Regions from separate parts of the Homo sapiens genome. Here all the other regions are linked to region 3. Evidence: promoter capture Hi-C in 16 types of primary human blood cells and fetal thymus (Javierre and others, 2016). All regions are on one chromosome and are shown on one strand. Each heading gives the region's core, a stretch centred on a gene start or on the middle of the fragment in contact. The rest is flanking DNA. Distances are from core to core; before and after follow the strand shown. Region 1 overlaps IL17RD (interleukin 17 receptor D). Region 2 overlaps SLMAP (sarcolemma associated protein). Region 3 holds the start of ARF4 (ARF GTPase 4). Region 4 holds the start of IL17RD (interleukin 17 receptor D). Region 5 overlaps APPL1 (adaptor protein, phosphotyrosine interacting with PH domain and leucine zipper 1). Region 6 overlaps HESX1 (HESX homeobox 1). Region 7 overlaps IL17RD (interleukin 17 receptor D).

Region 1 (2,700 bases), core at 17-2,516, 500 kb after region 3:
AAGGTGCCAAAAGCACTGCGCTTCTGTCCCCTCACTTGTAGGGCAGGAGTGGTAATGACTCCATGTGATACAAAAATGGATGGATGGCAAGTTTTTGCAGAGGGACTAGGGTGTGACCATCACCCACGGAACTTTAGCTGTTCCTTGGTATGGTGTAACCTGGAGCCTGCACATAGCTGTGCTAATAAGGGTTAAGGGGCAGATGAGATGGCCTCCTTCTGACATTTCCCTTCCTGTTACTCACTTCCCGAGCCTCTTCCCGAGCCTTCTGTATGGGTGAGGTGCCTTGTTCTCTTTCCAGGTGGCTCTGGACCTGTGGGAAGACTTCAGCCTCTGTAGAGAAGGGCAGAGAGAATGGGTCATCCAGAAGATCCACGAGTCCCAGTTCATCATTGTGGTTTGTTCCAAAGGTATGAAGTACTTTGTGGACAAGAAGAACTACAAACACAAAGGAGGTGGCCGAGGCTCGGGGAAAGGAGAGCTCTTCCTGGTGGCGGTGTCAGCCATTGCCGAAAAGCTCCGCCAGGCCAAGCAGAGTTCGTCCGCGGCGCTCAGCAAGTTTATCGCCGTCTACTTTGATTATTCCTGCGAGGGAGACGTCCCCGGTATCCTAGACCTGAGTACCAAGTACAGACTCATGGACAATCTTCCTCAGCTCTGTTCCCACTTGCACTCCCGAGACCACGGCCTCCAGGAGCCGGGGCAGCACACGCGACAGGGCAGCAGAAGGAACTACTTCCGGAGCAAGTCAGGCCGGTCCCTATACGTCGCCATTTGCAACATGCACCAGTTTATTGACGAGGAGCCCGACTGGTTCGAAAAGCAGTTCGTTCCCTTCCATCCTCCTCCACTGCGCTACCGGGAGCCAGTCTTGGAGAAATTTGATTCGGGCTTGGTTTTAAATGATGTCATGTGCAAACCAGGGCCTGAGAGTGACTTCTGCCTAAAGGTAGAGGCGGCTGTTCTTGGGGCAACCGGACCAGCCGACTCCCAGCACGAGAGTCAGCATGGGGGCCTGGACCAAGACGGGGAGGCCCGGCCTGCCCTTGACGGTAGCGCCGCCCTGCAACCCCTGCTGCACACGGTGAAAGCCGGCAGCCCCTCGGACATGCCGCGGGACTCAGGCATCTATGACTCGTCTGTGCCCTCATCCGAGCTGTCTCTGCCACTGATGGAAGGACTCTCGACGGACCAGACAGAAACGTCTTCCCTGACGGAGAGCGTGTCCTCCTCTTCAGGCCTGGGTAAGGTGCCTTTGGGGCCGGGTCCTAACAGGCCGCAGCCTTTGACCATGCTTCTGAAATCAGTCAAAGCGTTTTTCCACTTTTGGTGCCAACTTATTGGGCAATGAAACCTGATGAGAACACAGCTCGTTTGGTAGTCTTGATTTATACCAGGTGATGGGAGTACTCACATGTTTGAGTTGCAGAAATACTAATGCTAAATTATAGTGAGCTGCCCAGACCCTGCAAGGGGTGTTGTGCCACATACAGACTATGCACTGTATCACTTTTCTAAACTCCAAAAACATCAGACACGAAAACACATTGGGCCCCAAGGGTCTTGGGTAACAGTTTGTGGATGCGTCTTTTTTAGACCTGTAATGTTCACACCCCCCGCCCCCATTGTCTTTAAAGCTACATTCATTGAGTCTGGGATTCATGGGTACAGTATTCTTTCTATCCTTCAGCATAGGGTCCCAGGTATGAGGGCTCTCTAGGAAGGCCTACTTCTGCAGGGAGCATCAGGTAGATGCCATCTCAGGCTGTCCCTTACCATGTCTGTAACTAGTTGGAGTCATGCATACAAACCCTTGACTTTTTTTTTTTTTTTTTGAGATGGAGTCTCACCCTGTCGCCCAGGCTGCAATGGCATGATCTCAGCTCACTGCAACCTCTGCCTCCTGGGTTCAAGCGATTCTTCTGCCCAGCCTCCCGAATAGCTGGGATTACAAGCATGCGCCACCATGCCCAGCTAAATTTTTGTATCTTTAGTAGAGATTGGGTTTCACCATGTTGGCCAGGCTGGTCTCAAACTCCTGACCTCAAGTGATCCCTCAACCTCGGCCTCCCAAAGTGCTGGGATTACAGGCGTGAGCCACTGCGCCCGGCCTAAACGCTTGACTTTTAAGAAATATCTCTTCCTTCCTCAACTAAGGGAACTAGAACCTGTTAGGAGGATGAGAGTGCCCCATCTTGAGTTGGTTGGGATTCTTGCCTCGTTTATACAGAGCCCATAGTCCAAACCCAGATCCAGTCACATTCTGCCATGAGCACCTGCCCAGCCCAGTGAAATGCAATGACAGTGTGACTCTGTACTCTCTTCTCTCCTTAGGTGAGGAGGAACCTCCTGCCCTTCCTTCCAAGCTCCTCTCTTCTGGGTCATGCAAAGCAGATCTTGGTTGCCGCAGCTACACTGATGAACTCCACGCGGTCGCCCCTTTGTAACAAAACGAAAGAGTCTAAGCATTGCCACTTTAGCTGCTGCCTCCCTCTGATTCCCCAGCTCATCTCCCTGGTTGCATGGCCCACTTGGAGCTGAGGTCTCATACAAGGATATTTGGAGTGAAATGCTGGCCAGTACTTGTTCTCCCTTGCCCCAACCCTTTACCGGATATCTTGACAAACTCTCCAATTTTCTAAAATGATATGGAGCTCTGAAAGGCATGTCCATAAGGTCTGACAACAGCTTGCCAAATTT
Region 2 (2,717 bases), core at 36-2,535, 270 kb before region 3:
ATGATATCCCTTGATACATGGAAAAAATATTTTGTCTTTTCTTTTCTTTTCTTTTCTTTTTTAAAGACAGGGCCTTGCTCGTCACCCAGGCTGGAGTGCAGTGGCACAATTATGGCTCACTGCTGCCTCAACCTCCTGGGCTCAGCTGACCCTCCCACCTCAGCCTCCCACGTAGTTGGGACTACAGGCGCACACCACAATGCCTGGCTAAGGGAAAAAATATTTAATAAGTTCTGGGTATCAACTCTGATATCTTCGACTAACTTCTGTAGAAAACTGAGATGAAAGGCACATAGATTGGTAAACACAGAAAAGAGTTTAATTTCTACTGTACTCCAAGCACCTAGCGCAGGGTCTGGCACATAGTTGGTGCTCAATTAATGTTAGATGGAAGGGGAGAGAAGGAGAATGACTAGGGATCTTCAAGACTGAAGGATAATAGAGGTCACTGGGTAAAAAGTACCCCGTGTAGTGACAGGAAAACCAATAGTGGCTATATGTTTTTGGCAAGAGAGAACCCACGCTGTCCAGAAAGAAGGGTCACAGAACCAACAACTAATAAAAGATTTTTCTGATGGCAGAAAAAACTGACCCTGTTCTCTCTGATCAATGAAACAGATGGATAAACAAAGTAGTTTCTATGATATGTCCAAGGGCTCAATAAGCTGTTAAATAAACTCGAATGTTTTAAATGGGGGTCAAGTATCACTGGAGGCAGAACTTGATGAAACAAAATGGTAGTACAGCTCTTCGAAAAACAGAGTGGGGAAAAAGATCTATATTATATATTGCTAAAGGTGAACTTAATAATTTTCTGATTTGAGTAATTGAAATTTCCATATAACAAGGGATATCTAAGAATTGATCACAGCATCAACTCTTACAAAATAAAGGAAAGCTTGATTTTTAAATGATGGGGTTCAATGATCTGTGAGAGCATGCTTTTCATTCCAAACACTTAAAACCCTGAACTCCTTATCCTGCTTAAATACTAAAATGATATCATAAAAAGTATATATATATTTAAGTTTTTTACACTACCTTTTTCTGTGCTCCCATTTATTTTAGGTAAGAAGTCATCAACTTGTATCCCTAGGATTAAGACAGTATATCATTGCCTGATCAAAGAAGTATTACTTTAAATGTGGTCTCAAGTGTAACCATGGCATTCTGCATTCCTAAGATTAAGATTGTATAGAACACTTTAAAAGGGATCCTGCTGTTCATGTACTTTTCTTATTTAAATATCCCGAGGTAGAAGATCTCAGAGCAGAAATTTCACTCATCTCAAGGAAAACAATGGTGCCCACTGGTGGCAATCAAGCATATTTTTAAAGAAAATTTTCTAAAAGAATATAGATACTTTATACCTAATACATAAAACATCCCTTAAAAAATGCAGTGTGAGACAGTAAACAAGGTCAAAAGTTTAAGGATAAAATTCAGGTTTAAGTAAGAAATATGGATGCCACCTACCCAAGCTGCTGCATTCTTTAAGAGTTTTCTCCTGAAGATGTTCTAACCGTACTGTAAATAAAAGTCCAAAAAAAAAAAAGATATTTCACAGATAACAAGAAAAAAAATAAAATAAAATCAATTTCTGGATTAGCTACTTACCTTGTAAAGCTGTTAGCCTTTCATTGGTGAAATCATTATCAGCTTGCAAAGCTTCTATTTTTGCCTGGAGCTCCTGTTCTTTTTCTTCCATTTCATCTATTTTATGTTGTAATTCTTTTTTCTCAGCCTGTCCCTTCTGTTGGATTTCCTCTTGTTTTCCCTCTGCTACCTAGAAAAATAAGAAAATTCAGTTATTTAACAAACCTAACTCTGTTTTAAGAGCGAGCCCCAGGAATGCCTTTATTCACTTAAACTTCTAAGAAAAGTTTGTTCTGTAGAAAAGAAATGTTCTACAGAACATTATCTGTAAACCTGACATTTCTTTCTTTCTTTTTTTTTTTGAGATGGAGTTTCACTCTTGTTGCCTAGGCAACCTCCGCCTCCCGGGTTCGAGTGATTCTCCTGCCTCAGCCTCCCAAGTAGCTGGGATTACAGGCATGCGCCACCATACCCAGCTAATTTTGTATTTTTAGAAGAGACGGGGTTTCTCCATGTTGGTCAGGCTGGTCTCGAACGCCTGACCTCAGATGATCAGCCCACCTTGGCCTCCCAAAGTGCTGGGATTACAGGCATGAGCCACTGCGCCCGGCTAACCTGACATTTCTAAACCAGTAAAGATGATAAAGACAAAGGCTTGATGTCAAAAATTATCTGCATTGGGTTATTCCTCCATAACACCCAGGAGAGAGAAACTTGGAGGAAGCAAGTAGGCTCAGTACACACAGAGGTAAAGGGTCAATGTGGAAAAAAAAATCGTATTTTTAAAGAGGGAAGTAAGATTTTTCCCTAAAATTACTATCATTTCAATTTTGAAGTTCTATCATGTTAACATTCTGAAATTTTAAACAAAATTATTTAGTAACGAGATGACAGTACAATCACTATTCAAAAAGACCTCTCTGCCTATAGTTTGGATGTTCGTCCCCCAAGCCTCAATGTTGAAATTTGATCCTCAGTGTTGGAGATGGGGTCTAATGAGAGGTGTTTGGGTTATGGGAGCAGATCCCTCATGAATGGCTTGGTGCTGTCCTCATGGTAATGAGTGAATTCTCACTCTATTAGTCCTATGAAAGCTGGTTTTTAAAAAGAGCCTGGCACCT
Region 3 (2,700 bases), core at 135-2,634:
CTCACTGCAACCTCCGCCTCCCGGGTTCACGCCATTCTTCTGCCTCAGCCTCCGGAGTAGCTGGGAGTATAGGCACCCGCCACCACGCCCGGTTAATTTATTCTATTTTTAGTAGAGACTGGGTTTCACCGTGTTAGCCAGGATGGTCTCGATCTCCTGACCTCGTAATCTGCCCGCCTCGGCCTCCCAAAGTGCTGGGATTACAGGCATGAGCCACTATGCCCGGCCAGAAGTTTTTGCTTTTAATTGCCCAGGGCCACTCCTAAGAAATAACAGTCTCTGAAGGGTAGATAAGGTAGTGCTACCAAGAGAAGCGTTACTCAGCAAGCCTTCAAAAATATAAAAATAACTTACTGTTTCTGAAAGTTTGCAAGTTTTTCTTATTCAACCCCATCCTATGGAAATATACCAGTTGGAATAAGCAACTACAGAACCACATAGGACGGCACTACTAGAAAAATAGATTAAATCTTTATCCTGGCAATGAGTCTAATACATTTATCATTGCTGTGAATTTTAAAAGGTGTAGCAGGCCGGGCGCGGTGAGTCACCGCGCCAGGCCCGATCATAAACACTTTTAAAGTGAAGAGGCTTTCCGCTTCCTCAACATAAGGAGTAAATCTTTAATGCTGCTTCTAGGAAAAAAAGTACAAGAAAAGCAAGACTTCCTCCTTGCCTTCTCTTTAAAAAGCAACAGCCGATGAACACGTGTTGGAGCGCTCTCGCCTTGACAGAATTAGAGATCTTCAGAATCACTTGGCGTGGTGGTCGAAGCGTCTAGCCCTAGCTCATTAGGGTGCCACAGTTTCTCGGCCCACAAGTCAGCTTTTAACCACTTTTCTCCGCAAAAGACCGGACCGGTCTTCATGCGTCAACTAAAGCAAGCGTCTGGTCCCGTGTGTGAAACGTGTAAGTTCATGGCATCAGGGAATACCCATCGCGCGTACCGTAATAGAAGAGGGCGAGGTTCCTCACCTAACCCATAATGCTCAGCTCGCCTTTCCGGAAGCAAGGACTATCACCCCGACAATACCTTCATCCGGGCGGAAGCGTCTCACCCTGAGTCTGATTTGGCAGTGACGAAGCGAGGTATTGTGGGACTTTGTCCGTCTCCCAGTACGCATGTGCCTCAGCCGGCCTCTCCCGGCTCCTGGGGCCACGTCCGGGCGGTGGCGCCGTCGAGAGATGCTCGTCAGCGAAACTGGCCAATCCCCTGCAGGCGCAAGCGCAGTGGCTCGGGCGCACCGGAAGCGCAGGGGGATGGGGCGGCGGTGACGCGATTCTGTCCGCGTTGGAGGGGCCGGGCCGCTGCTGGAGTCGCCGCGGCCGCCGCGTGACGTGGCACAGCCAGAGCCTAAAGGCTAGAGCCGGAGCTGCCGCGCCAGTCGCCTAGCAGGTCCTCTACCGGCTTATTCCTGTGCCGGATCTTCATCGGCACAGGGGCCACTGAGACGTTTCTGCCTCCCTCTTTCTTCCTCCGCTCTTTCTCTTCCCTCTCGTTTAGTTTGCCTGGGAGCTTGAAAGGAGAAAGCACGGGGTCGCCCCAAACCCCTTCTGCTTCTGCCCATCACAAGTGCCACTACCGCCATGGGCCTCACTATCTCCTCCCTCTTCTCCCGACTATTTGGCAAGAAGCAGATGCGCATTTTGATGGGTGAGTGAGGGGCTGCGAGTCAGGCGGGACCTGGGAAAGGCAGGGTCTCCACAATTGGGGTGGCCTCTGGGCCTGTTTTTTTCCTCCGCCCGCTGTGGTGGGGGAGGGGCGCCGGGTCGGGGGTCGGAAGGAATTCTTAAGGGGGAACAATGGAGCGGAGGGTGAGCGATCCCCCCCGCCCCCGATCTGTCGCCAGACGAGACAGGGACAGGGCTTCGGGCAAGATTTCTTTCTGGACTCGGCTTTTTCTCCTTGATCTTATTGAAAGCTGGACAACATTGGGCAGAGATGTGGGGAAAGCCAACTCTGGGAAGCAAACACTTGGCGAGGCCCTTTCTGGGGGTGCGATCTGCATACCTTCTTGCCCGGGTGTGGACAGCGGTCAGGAGGGAGGCAGAGCAACTCCAGCCTTTTCCCTCCCCTTCTGCGTTTCGTGTACAGTCCCTGCATACTCCATTGGTATGTAAGCCAGCGGCCACCCGGAGCCTGGAGCCGCCCGGGGCAGGAAGTTGCGGTGGCCAGGGAGCACCCAAGGTTTCCGAAGAGTCTGGAGTCCTTCAGCGCTCACTTTGCTAAACTTGGCCTTGCGCTGGATTCCGTTTCAAGTTTTTCGCTCCTTGTTAATCTCATTCTCCGAAAACTGAGCTTATCTTCTATTTCTTTGACTATTTTCAAAAACTTTAAATGTGTTTGGTTTATTCTCCTAGGTTTTTAAGCTTATTTTTAGGCGGTCTAAGGTCTAATGCAAAAAAATTTTAGAAACGAATTTTTAAAAAATACCTGATAAATTTTCAAGTAACTGAACATCATGACGCTGAATTTTATGGTAGTCTTGTTAAATAGTAACTACAATTTTTTTAAAATTTCTTTTTAGAAAGTTGACTTTTTAAAAACTACTTTTTAGGGGGCGTGTTTTTGCTCAGCTGAGGGAGAAGGGCTGTCAGTTGGCTGAAGTAAGCAACCGCTCCCGGTTACTGTAAGCAGTCTACATCACAGCTGAGCTCCATGGACTAGAATAACGCTGAAAGAAGCCCCTCTAACTTTGA
Region 4 (2,700 bases), core at 104-2,603, 430 kb after region 3:
CAAGGTAAGTGTGTTAGGGTATTTTTGAATCACTGATTCTAACAGATGTCCCTTAGCATGGGGTTGTTTAATAAGTTATAAAGCATGTATAGGCTGGAATGTCACATAGATTAAGGAGCTGGTCGCCTCATTGTTTCCTCCCTGTTTCACCAAAACCCATATGGTCCTGGCCTCATCTCAGCCCCTGGCACCCCTGACTCTCATGGCCAAACGCTGGACATCCTTGCTGTGGGGGCTGAGAACAACCCAGGGACAGTACCAAGAATGTGAGGGAGGGTAGGGAGGCACTGAACCAGCAGCTCCTCCAAAGGAGTGATGTGCTTCCTGAGGTCTATTCACAGAAGGCTACTCCAGAACAGCCTTCTGTGGATCCTAGCTATTCTGGTGTCTGAAGAGGGTATGGTAAACCTCACTGGGTCTGGCTGAATTCCTGAATTCCAGGCAGTGAGGTAAAAAAAAAAAAAATTCTGCCCAGCATCTGGGTCTTGAGGTGGATGCTGTTGTTTGGGGAACCCAGCACCCATTCTCCCTCTCCCTGGCAATAATGTCAGTGTTCCTTTGGGCAAGCACTGTTTCACACTTCCAGCCCCTGAAGTTCAGGTGAGGCTGGCTCTACTCCTTGGTTCTAGATGTAGCTACTTCCAAGCAAATCCCCAAGACTTCTGCTAGCATTACCAAGAAGAGTTCTCTTCCTCCACTTAAGCCCTCCAAGGACGTGTGGGCAGGGTGGTGGAGACACAAGCCACAAGAGAAAGTGCAGGAATCCTGTGTTAGCAGTGGCTGAGCTTAGGCCAGGCCAGAGAAGGAGAGGGAGGGGATTCTGGGCCCTGGAAGGAGAGTCATATAGAGGAGGCTGCCCTGTTGAATGGACGGAGGTGACAATTTCCAAGGTTTCCTGAGGCAAAAAGACCAAGATAAGGCTGGGGCTGGGGGGAGTTCTGTGCAGCAGGAGCCAGGTGGTAAAGACAGAGTGGAAGAGAAAGCCAGTATGGATTTTATTCTAAATGGCCTTTGCATAAGAGCCACCATAGAACAGTTTTATTTATTGATTTTATTTTTATTAATCCTCCTCCAAACACAGAACACATAATTTTACTGTTTTTTTTTGTTGGTGGTGGTGGTGGTAGGTTTGTTTGTTTGTTTGTTTGTTTGTTTGTTTTTAGAGACAGGGTCTTACTGTGTCACTCAGGCTTCAGTGCGGTTGGCAGGATCATAGCTCACTGTTACCTCTAACTCCTGAACTCAAGCGATCCTCTAGGATTGGCCACTGCACTCAGCCTAGAGTTTTAATTGGGATAAGTCAGTAGTCTGATTTGTGTTTTTGGAAGATAACTTTGGATCCAGGCTGGAGAAATGTATCGGACACGGGGACAAAGTCAGAAGTAGAAAAAGCCCTTAGGAAGAGGAGGTGGTATTCTTGAGGAAGGGGGTAGTGGAGAGGGACAAAGTGGGAGAGTTTAGGTGCTCAGATAAAAGGCAAAGCGCTGGGAAGAGTGCGGTGAAACTCTGGATAGCTTGGGCTACTCCACTTCTCTGAGCCTCAGTTTCCTCTTCCAAACAGAAATAATATCCACTTCATGAGGTTATGTTTGACAAGTGTAGTAGCTGAGAGTATTGTTTTTAGTCAGGTCTGGATTGGATCTCAGGTCTGGCAGGTAACAGCTGTGTGACCTTATGAGAGTCAGTTAATGATAGATTGTAGCCTTTATGGAGCACTTGTTATGTTTCAACCAACAGAACTCTCCCCAGACTAGGATACTTATTCTAGCTTCCAGGAGGGTGAGGGGGACGGGGGGTTGTGGTGAGGAAGTATTGTGGAGACAGCAAGCCTTTTGTCCAAAGTCCTACTAGTAAATGTGGAGCCAGGATTTCTCTGTCACGTTCCCCTAACTTTTCTGCGCCTAAAACTGGGATAACAATAATACACTTCCTTGTGTGGTTGGGCGTATACAGAAAGGGGTCTGGCACATAGCAGGTGTTTATTAAATTATTATTAAAATTATTATTATTACATTCTTTGTGTTTTCCTCAGGTTTTGCATAGAGTGAGCATCACTTGGACAAATCCTTTGGATTAAAAAAAGATCTACTAAGTGAGGGGGAAGAAACTGCGGCTGCCAGAGTCTCAGTGGGGGCTTGGGGGGCGTGACCAGAGGGGCGTGGTCTACGGGGGCAGGGCCACAACTGGAGGGCCAGGCTGTGGGGGCGGGGCCAGCACACGAGGACTGAGGGTGGGGGCGGGGCCCGGGCTGGCAACGCATGCCCAGTGCGGTCCCCTTCGCTGCCGCCGCGGCCGCCGCGGCCACCGCCCACTCGGGGCTGGCCAGCGGCGGGCGGCCGGGGCGCAGAGAACGGCCTGGCTGGGCGAGCGCACGGCCATGGCCCCGTGGCTGCAGCTCTGCTCCGTCTTCTTTACGGTCAACGCCTGCCTCAACGGCTCGCAGCTGGCTGTGGCCGCTGGCGGGTCCGGCCGCGCGCGGGGCGCCGACACCTGTGGCTGGAGGGTAAGGCGAGGGCGGCGGGTTTCTTGCCGTCGCCAACTCGCGGGGGACGCAGCGCGCACAGGTGCTCGCGGGGAGGCGAGCCCGCGCCAACCTGTCTGCTCTTCGCGGGGTCCGCGGCCGGCCTGGGTCTCACTCCTCCCGCGCATCCTCCTGGTTTCCCTCCCCGGACGCGTGTCCTCCGGCCCTGGCCGAGATGA
Region 5 (2,700 bases), core at 119-2,618, 350 kb after region 3:
ACTATATTCATTTGGTATTGTCTTACATGATACACAATATACAAAAATAACAATAGTTTTCTTACTTCCTAGCATTAAGGTATCCAGCCTTTCGGGTTAAATTTCGATTAACAGGAAATTTGGTGGGGTCTGGGTCAGGCACATATAAGGGATCACTGGCTACTTCCAAATCCTCTATTGTCTGTTGCATGGTCTCTATATCACTGTCCATTTCCCTGCGAACACTGACACAGAACAGATTATTTGCTACAAATCACAACCAATAAAGAACTCCTTACCAATCATGTTTACCTGCATATTTGTTTCGGGTATGTTTTCTTAAAGAGAGGAAGAGCGGCATGGGTGGTTAAAACAACACGAATATATTTTAAAACAGGTTTACAGTTTATTTGAAACTTAGATATTTTGGAAACAATACTAAATTCAAAAAACAAATGAAGCCCCCCGAATGCCTGATTTTGGCGTAATTTTCAAACTGTTCTGCCCTGTGCCTTTAAAACAACAATCACTTTCATCTCTCTCCATACCGTGGACTGACCACATACACTGCTCGGCATTTTGAACCTGATAAGAACTGCTTTCTCTCTAAGCTTTCATGGCTTGGAAACAATATTTAGTAATCTCCCATCAAACTCCCACAATTTCAAGTTTAAAGATAATTTCACTTATGGGGAGTTACTATTATGTGTCTGTTATATTCAGACATAAAACTGAGTGTAGAATCAATAAAATTATCACTATTATGAAATTCAAAGTTCACAATCTGTGGAAAAAAGAGGTTAAAAAAAAACAAGAAGTAACCATGAACCACATAAGAAACTCTCATGGCAGGGAAAATATTCCCTCAGGAAAGTAAATGATAAATATCTTTACATTATGTCATTGAGCTGTTATCATTCACATCATTTCATTTTCAATTTTAAGGAAAAAAATACTTACTTCTGAACGCTTGTTCCAATATTAGCTAAAAATTCTTCCAGTTGTTCATTAAGATTTTCAGAACCCATCTTAAAGAAACTTATCTGGAGAGTGGGGAGTGGGGGGAATTGAACAATACAAAAATAGATTAAGCAATACTTAAAGTAAATCATATAAACAATCTCTAAGACACATGGTTAAGTAAAAAACAAAGGAATATTCCCATTTGTGTAAAAATACATTGTAGTTTGTGACTTCTACTGCACAGGGAGCCATTAAGGAAGTTAGACTTAAATTCCACTGCATATCCTTTTATATTTTTTGAATTGGAACAAGTAATATATACATATGGTTAACAATCTTTTAAAATTGGAAAATAAATTTTAAAGTATTTCCAATAAATTATATAAAGTATTTCATGTTTACTACAAAGATAAGTTTTCTATCTGAGGAATAATCAGTAAAGTACTCTTTTACCTAAATAGATTCAATTTTTTTTTTTTTTTTTGAGACAGGGTCTCGTCTGTCATCCAGACTGCACAATAAAACCTCACTGCAGCCTCAGCCTCCTAGGCTCAAGGGATCCTTCCATTTCAGCCTCCCAAGTTGCTGGGATCACCGAGGCATGCTACCAAGCCCAGCTAATTTTTTCATTTTTTGTAGAGATGGGGTCTCCCTACGTTGCTGAGGCTAGTCTCAAACTCCTGGACTCAAATGATCCTCCTACCTCGGCCTACCAAAGTGCTCGATTATAGGCATAAGGCACCGTGCCTGCCCTCAATTTTCTTTAAACTCTTGATTTTTAGGAGACTGACACTTTGTCTTATACTACCCAAATTTTCTAGCCCCCTTCCTGATGTACTCTTTGGGCACGTTGGAGTTCATCTATTATTTTTAACTCAGGAAGTATGCAAGGAATATGGGATAAACTCAAACTTGTTTATTCTTTTTCAGATCTATTATGAAGCAAGTGTTTAGTTGAAGCTCTAGCAATAGGTGTAACTCTGAAATTCATTTAGTTCTCTCAGTCCCCAGCTATGGTGAACAAGTGGTTTCATTTACCTAAAATATTTGAAATCTTCATTTGCAAGGAAAACCATTCTTCCTAACTTCCTTAAAATAATAGTCTGATGACATTTTAAAAATAACTTCTTAAAACACAGACATAAACAAGGATGTTGAAAATAGTTTATAATACCCTTATACTTAATGTAAATATCAAGCTTAATATAAAACTTTTAGGACAGTTATAATCCAAATACAGTACAGTATTTACCTGAGCTTGCATGTACCCAAGTAGAGGTTCTAACAATGCTATTTTCTTCTTGTACTGAAGAGTATTTAATGCACAAAAATAATGCATCATGGTCTGGTGTTGTTTCTTTCTGGATGTGTACACATCTTCTGTTACTTCATACTTCACCTTTGAATGAAAAGATTTAAATAATTAAGTAAATAATCTGCTATTATTTACTTAATTTTGTATTATCTTCAGTAGGAGCTGTGGAGAAGAGCCTACCCAAGGAATTGAGTATCACAAGCAATTGAGCATTAATGTTCCTGTTTTCTGATCTTTTAGAAATCCTTCAACATACTGGTTAAGCAAATTTTCCTGTTTAACTTCCAACCACATAATTTACAAAATGCACATTGAGCCCAGGCGTGGTGGCTCATGCCTGTAATCCCAGCACTTTGGGAGGCCGAGGCGGGACGATCACTTGAGGTCAGGAGTTTAAGAACAGCCTGGCCAACATGGTGAAACCGACTCTATTAAAAATGGAA
Region 6 (2,700 bases), core at 105-2,604, 400 kb after region 3:
AGTGTTGGTCTTGTTGCCAAGACTGGAGTGCAATGGCATAATCTTGGCTCACTGCAGCCTCCGCCTCCTGGGTTCAAACGATTCTCCTGCCTCAGCCTGCCAAGTAGCTGGGATTACAGGCATGCACCACCATGGCCTGCTAATTTTTGTATTTTTTAGTAGAGGGGGGTTTCACCCTGTTGGTCAGGCTAGTCTCGAACTCCTGACCTCAGGTGATCCGCCTGCCTCAGCCTCCCAAAGTGTTAGGATTACAGGCATGACCCACCACGCCCAGCCAGAGTCTAGGACTTTTAATGCCTCCAACTGAGTCCTATGGGAAATTAAAAGAATATCAGCTTTGGATTGAGCAAAGTGGATAAATTCACTCACAGGAAATCCCAAGAACCTGCATTTACTTCAGAAGATCTCTCCCTGTTTGACACATCAGATATTTGAAATCTCTTTTCACTGAAAAATAAACGACATTCAGAGACCAAAGAGGCAGGATTACCAAGACAGGATCTTCATTTTTTATTGGTTTTTGGTTAACGGGGTGCAATTCTCTTGTGAACCCCAGAATTCCACTAGGAAATGAAAGATGAGTTCCTGAAACTACCTCTATAGAACTTTGTGGAACATAAGATTGACCATCTAAGACAGGGCTTATTTTTTTGTTTTTAGGGAAAGATGGTAACTTATGTCTACATGTCCCAAATCCTCCCAGTGGGATTTCATTCCCTAGCGTGGTGGATCACCCAATGCCAGAAGAAAGAGCTTCGAAATATGAAAATTACTTTTCAGCCTCAGAAAGACTGTCTTTGAAAAGAGAGTTGAGTTGGTATAGAGGCCGAAGACCAAGAACTGCTTTTACTCAAAACCAGGTGGGAAGTTTTTTCACCCAATAATGATAATATAAAGGCTTTAATTGACACCAAGTTGAGCAAAAGCCCACTCACTTTGGTATCTCAGTTTAGAAGCCTTATTAATGAAACAGTAGACTACCATATTTTAACAATTTCCAGGTAATCATTTTTAAAAAGGCATCCAGATTAATTGCCAAGATTTAAATGTAGTCATTTTACTCTAGAAATTAAAGCTCATTTTTGGAGACATACTGAATATCAACATTTTTTTTTCTTAGATTGAAGTGTTAGAAAATGTCTTTAGAGTAAACTGCTATCCTGGTATCGATATTAGAGAAGACTTAGCTCAAAAATTGAATCTAGAGGAAGACAGAATCCAGGTAATTTTCAAATTTAGTTGTTATTCATGATGTTGAAATGTTAAGAATAATAAAATAATGTTTCTGAGACCTATTTTATTTTTCCTTAACTTTAGATTTGGTTTCAAAATCGGCGTGCAAAACTGAAAAGGTCCCATAGAGAATCACAGTTTCTAATGGCGAAAAAAAATTTCAACACAAATCTGCTGGAATAGATAGAAAACTAAACAAGTGAAATTATCTTCTAATTGCAGAGCATGAAGAATCAGTGGAAATATTAAGTGTTAAAATGTGATGTTTTCTTTCCTGCATTTAATCTGAATATTGTCATTTTTTCTGAAAATATATTGTAAATACTATTATAGCATGGTACATATTTGGGCACTTTTAGTTATAGTAAAGACCTTTTATATATATTTTAATAAACATTTTCAGAAAAGATTGCTATTTTTTAAGTAAGCCAAATTAATCTAATAAATTAGTTTGTTAAAATCAATAGACTCATGACTAAGTGATTCCACAAGCTGGATTCTAATTATAAAGTATTTCAAGTAAAATAATCTGAAGAACAAAAGTGTGAGTTGTTTTCATTAGTTTCTTCCATGCACATTTTGAAACATAATTATGCTTCACTATATTATAAATTATGATTTATTCATGAATCTTCAACTTCTCTTGATTTATAGCATAAAGCAGTGAGAATTTCTCACCATTTATCAGAACAAATTCTTACAGTATGTTAGTTTCAAGTTTTTTTTCCAAGCAAAGTCATTATGCCAAAGTAGAAATATACAAGCATCAGCTATCATATTTATACCATTGGTATTGAATTGCACAAAAGAAGTAAGCAGCAAATAAATGCAAAATTTTAAATAGTTTTCTAGTTTAATTTTGTACTTTACTTTCATTCATTAGTGATAGTGATCATGTAGCTTATATCTATTTCCAGTTTAAATGATTTCTAATCAACTGCAATATTAAGTTGACTGAGAAGGTAGGATAACTGACCCACCTTTTGTAAGTGCTCTGACATAGTCACTGGAAATAATCAAGGTGCTTTCTAAGTAACAAAAACTATGTGTTTTCATTTCCCATTTTCCCATTTTACCTGCCAATTAAAGATGGGGGGCTGGGCGCGGTGGCTCACGCCTGTAATCCCAACACTTTGGGAGGCCGAGGCGGGCGTATCACGAGGTCAGGAGATCGAGAACACGGTGAAACCCCGTCTCTACTAAAAAAATACAAAAAATTAGCTGGGCGCGGTGGCGGGCGCCTGTAGTCGCAGCTACTCCGGAGGCTGAGGAAGGAGAATGACGTGAACCCGGGAGGCGGAGCTTGCCGTGAGCCGAGATCGCGCCACTGCACTCCAGCCTGGGCGACAGAGCGAGACTCCGTCTCAAAAAAAAAAAAAAAAAAAAAAAAGATGAGAATAGGATAAGATATATAACAAGAAGGGAGCCCTCTCGGCTGGAAATCTGGGCATTTGTTTTCCAGTTAAT
Region 7 (2,700 bases), core at 130-2,629, 470 kb after region 3:
GGATTACAAATGTGAGCCGCTGCGCCCGCCCCTTCTTTTACAGTGTCTTGCTCTGTCACCCAGTCTGGAGTGTGGTGGTGTGATCTCGGCTCACTACGGTCACAACCTCCTTGGCTCAAGCGATCCCCCTGCCTCAGCCTCCCAAGTAGCTGGGACCACAGGTGTGTACCACCATGTCTGGCTAATATTTTTGTACTTTTTGTAGAATGGGTTTCACCGTTTTGCCCAGGCTGGTCTTAAACTCCTGAGCTCAAGCAATCCGCTGGCCTCCGCCTCCCAAAATGCTGGGATTACAGGTGTGAGCCACCATGGCTGGCCTGAATTTTGTTTTTAATCACCGAAGTAAAACCACTCTCTATTATTCAACAGACGTAGCTTTAAGCTATCAAGCTATTGAGTGGAGCTGGACTATAAGGCAGGTGAGAGGTCTGGGGGCTTCAGGGGTCCAGAAGCCTCCTGAAAATACCATGTGCCAATGTGTGTGCACACATGCACCACAGTTCTCCCCCAAATAAAAAGCTGTGAGTCTTGGTAATGAGGGGTAAATGAGAGCAAAGTGATTTTGGCCTTGGTGGTGATAGTATTGCCAAGAGAGGGATGACGGTAGGATTGCAGCTGTATAGCAACTCACACTCACCCCGTTTTCAGATCTCACCAGTGTTTTTCTGAAGGCCTCAGGATATCACTCAAACCTTCAAAGTCCTTGCATCTTGAGGCCAAACTTTGTACTTCAGTCCATGAACACATGAACAGAGTGCACCTGTGGTTGATGGGCATTGGGCTGGGTGTGGCACAGCCTGGGACTCCTGTTGGCTGAATACTTTCACCTTTCTTTGTTTCACCCTTCTTAAGGCAGGACGGTGGTATTTTGTAACCAGTGGGCACTCAGCGAGTGTGAGTTGCATGCTTATACTGAAAGGTTCTAGGAAATCAGGTTTGGAGGCTCTTTCTGTAGAAAGGCAGTGCTGCTCGCCCAACATTGAGACTTGATATTTCTCCCAAGTAACTGGGATTCCCACAGCTTGGGGAGAATCAAGACAGTTGAGAGTGGTGGGCTGGAGGAACAGCTGAGGTAGGAGGGGGTGGGGGAGGGGAAGCTTGTTCACATGCTTGTTAACATTTAAGGGTCTTTGACAAAGGAAGTCTAATGCCTTGCCCCGGTCAGCCGGTGATTGCCCCCCGGGAGGCCCCGTTGTGCACAGGAAGTCAGACACTAATGATGTTAGCGAGGGGACAAAGGCGCCTGGCCTGGGAAGGGTCTAATTGCTGTGTCCGGCTCCCAGGCGGCTGGCCTCAAGCTGGTGGGGGCTGGGCAGGATGCGCTAAGTGTTAACACCTGGAGCCGGCACTGCTGACTTCCTGGTGCTTTTTTGTTGTTGTTGTTGGCTTTGTGGCTGGGCACACATACTGACAACACACACACTCAAAGGCATTCAGAAACCCTGACTGCATCTCAGGGGGATGTTTCAGGACTTGCTATCTAAGAGACTAGATGGAAATGGTTTGATCAGGAGGTAACACCGTGAGTGTCACCCCTGGGCCGGGCAGGGCCGTGAAACAGGAGGCTTTACTCCTGTTTCTCCTCCCATCTGCCCGTCAGAGCTTGGTGACTGTGGCTTCACCTCTGGGCTGACTACTTCCCTCTCCCCCAGAAAGCTTCTGGGAAAGGCCAGACCTTGCAGAGAGAGGCAGATACTTATTAGAAGGGTCACTCTGGCTTTAGCTTAGAACATTCTAGTCAGAATGAATGGGAGAATATTCACTCCTGGAGGACAGAGAGAACCAGCTGGGGTCACCCAAGGGTGGTTATGGTATATGTGTGGATATTTTATATATTGCTATTTGAATTCACACCTGGAGAGGTAGTTGGAGGGTCTGCATCCCAGGGAACTGGCAAAGCCAAGATGCACCCTTTGATTTCTGAGTGGGGTCTTGGGATTTTTTGTGTCTAAACATGGCTTTGGACCTGGGGGCCTGTGAACCCCTCAGAGGCCCTTGGGTGGCCTTCATGAGCTCTGGGAACCTCCCAAAATTGTGTATGAAAAGTTTCTGGGGGAAATTGGGTAAGGATTATTTTTCACAGGATTCTCCAAAGGTTCTAGTAAACTTTTCCTCTTAACAAAAACAGGGTCATCAGTAATTAAAAGCAAATACACCCTGCCTTGGCCAGTAGCCCTGCAGGGTGGGATTAGAGGTTCAGTTCAGCAAGGGTAAGGCTACCTGGAGCCTGAGGTGGGCTACTAATGGCAGGCAGTTTTGAGCACAGGTTGACTCACTTGGATTTTTGCAGCTAGAGAACAGGGGCATTTAAAAGGATGCTTGAAGCCTGTCTCCTTCCTAGAGAAAGTGGGGGAAAGCCACACATTTTGAAAAAGGGCCTAATGCTGACTTACTGCTTCCCACTGTTATTTTAAGGTTTTTCTGTCCGAGACCACCATGTGGACAGACTTAATCGGCTGACAGAAGGGGTTGCCTTGCTTTCTAGCATGTCCTGTAATATTTCCATTAACACTGAAACCTAAAATGATGGCCTTCCATAATTTCCAAATATGCGAAATCCACCTTGAAGGAAATGTGCGTGGGGCTTGCCGGGGACCTGTTGGGGTGGAGGAGGCTGGGTCCCCATGGCAACGTCACAATCCCCCATTTCTATAGGCATTTGTGCTGTAAAAGCAGAATTCCAGATGTGGCTTAGTATTT

Evidence for each region. Contacts are between HindIII fragments. The CHiCAGO score rates a contact against its expected background, and 5 or more counts as called.
Region 1: a contact is called between a fragment that was not itself captured here and the fragment with the promoter of ARF4 in region 3, in 2 of 17 cell types (endothelial precursors and M1 macrophages). The highest score is 5.8, in endothelial precursors.
Region 2: a fragment that was not itself captured here is called in contact with the fragment with the promoter of ARF4 in region 3 in 2 of 17 cell types (erythroblasts and endothelial precursors); the score reaches 6.9 in erythroblasts.
Region 4: a fragment that was not itself captured here is called in contact with the fragment with the promoter of ARF4 in region 3 in 1 of 17 cell types (megakaryocytes); the score reaches 5.2 in megakaryocytes.
Region 5: a fragment that was not itself captured here is called in contact with the fragment with the promoter of ARF4 in region 3 in 1 of 17 cell types (naive B cells); the score reaches 5.1 in naive B cells.
Region 6: a fragment that was not itself captured here is called in contact with the fragment with the promoter of ARF4 in region 3 in 1 of 17 cell types (naive B cells); the score reaches 5.4 in naive B cells.
Region 7: a fragment that was not itself captured here is called in contact with the fragment with the promoter of ARF4 in region 3 in 1 of 17 cell types (fetal thymus); the score reaches 5.0 in fetal thymus.

The regions. Positions count from the first base shown.
Region 1 is chr3:57,096,140-57,098,839 of GRCh38, reverse strand. It overlaps IL17RD (interleukin 17 receptor D), which reads left to right. Exons shown (of 13, transcript NM_017563.5): 12 at 302-1,244; 13 at 2,335-2,700. The coding sequence ends at 2,447. Among named protein-coding and RNA genes, the nearest start is that of SPATA12, 37 kb to the right of the region's middle. RefSeq lists an enhancer at 425-1,624. The HindIII fragment of the contact is 3,437 bases long and covers 1-2,700 here.
Region 2 is chr3:57,863,617-57,866,333 of GRCh38, reverse strand. SLMAP (sarcolemma associated protein) reads right to left here. Exons shown (of 25, transcript NM_001377540.1): 11 at 1,618-1,786; 12 at 1,477-1,527; 13 at 1,042-1,092. Among named protein-coding and RNA genes, the nearest start is that of SLMAP, 110 kb to the right of the region's middle. The HindIII fragment of the contact is 770 bases long and covers 901-1,670 here.
Region 3 is chr3:57,596,028-57,598,727 of GRCh38, reverse strand. It overlaps ARF4 (ARF GTPase 4), which reads left to right and starts at 1,384. Exons shown (of 6, transcript NM_001660.4): 1 at 1,384-1,654. The coding sequence starts at 1,588. ARF4-AS1 (ARF4 antisense RNA 1) reads right to left here and starts at 939. Exons shown (of 2, transcript NR_132370.1): 1 at 677-939. It also overlaps a transcript of PDE12 not described here. RefSeq lists enhancers at 361-1,066, 581-1,140, 1,161-1,410, 1,421-1,490, 1,681-1,730 and 4 more. The HindIII fragment of the contact is 2,548 bases long and covers 1-2,372 here.
Region 4 is chr3:57,164,964-57,167,663 of GRCh38, reverse strand. It overlaps IL17RD (interleukin 17 receptor D), which reads left to right and starts at 2,311. Exons shown (of 13, transcript NM_017563.5): 1 at 2,311-2,503. The coding sequence starts at 2,378. RefSeq lists silencers at 2,123-2,172, 2,193-2,532. The HindIII fragment of the contact is 4,210 bases long and covers 1-2,700 here.
Region 5 is chr3:57,245,717-57,248,416 of GRCh38, reverse strand. APPL1 (adaptor protein, phosphotyrosine interacting with PH domain and leucine zipper 1) reads right to left here. Exons shown (of 22, transcript NM_012096.3): 8 at 2,195-2,341; 9 at 940-1,022; 10 at 66-224. Among named protein-coding and RNA genes, the nearest start is that of APPL1, 19 kb to the right of the region's middle. The HindIII fragment of the contact is 1,551 bases long and covers 593-2,143 here.
Region 6 is chr3:57,196,913-57,199,612 of GRCh38, reverse strand. It overlaps HESX1 (HESX homeobox 1), which reads left to right. Exons shown (of 4, transcript NM_003865.3): 2 at 661-860; 3 at 1,121-1,222; 4 at 1,318-1,775. The coding sequence ends at 1,416. Among named protein-coding and RNA genes, the nearest start is that of HESX1, 1.7 kb to the left of the region's middle. The HindIII fragment of the contact is 4,065 bases long and covers 1-2,700 here.
Region 7 is chr3:57,129,522-57,132,221 of GRCh38, reverse strand. All of the region lies in intron 1 of IL17RD (interleukin 17 receptor D), which reads left to right. Among named protein-coding and RNA genes, the nearest start is that of IL17RD, 34 kb to the left of the region's middle. RefSeq lists enhancers at 322-1,148, 1,149-1,974, 1,975-2,700 and a silencer at 2,547-2,700. The HindIII fragment of the contact is 559 bases long and covers 1,100-1,658 here.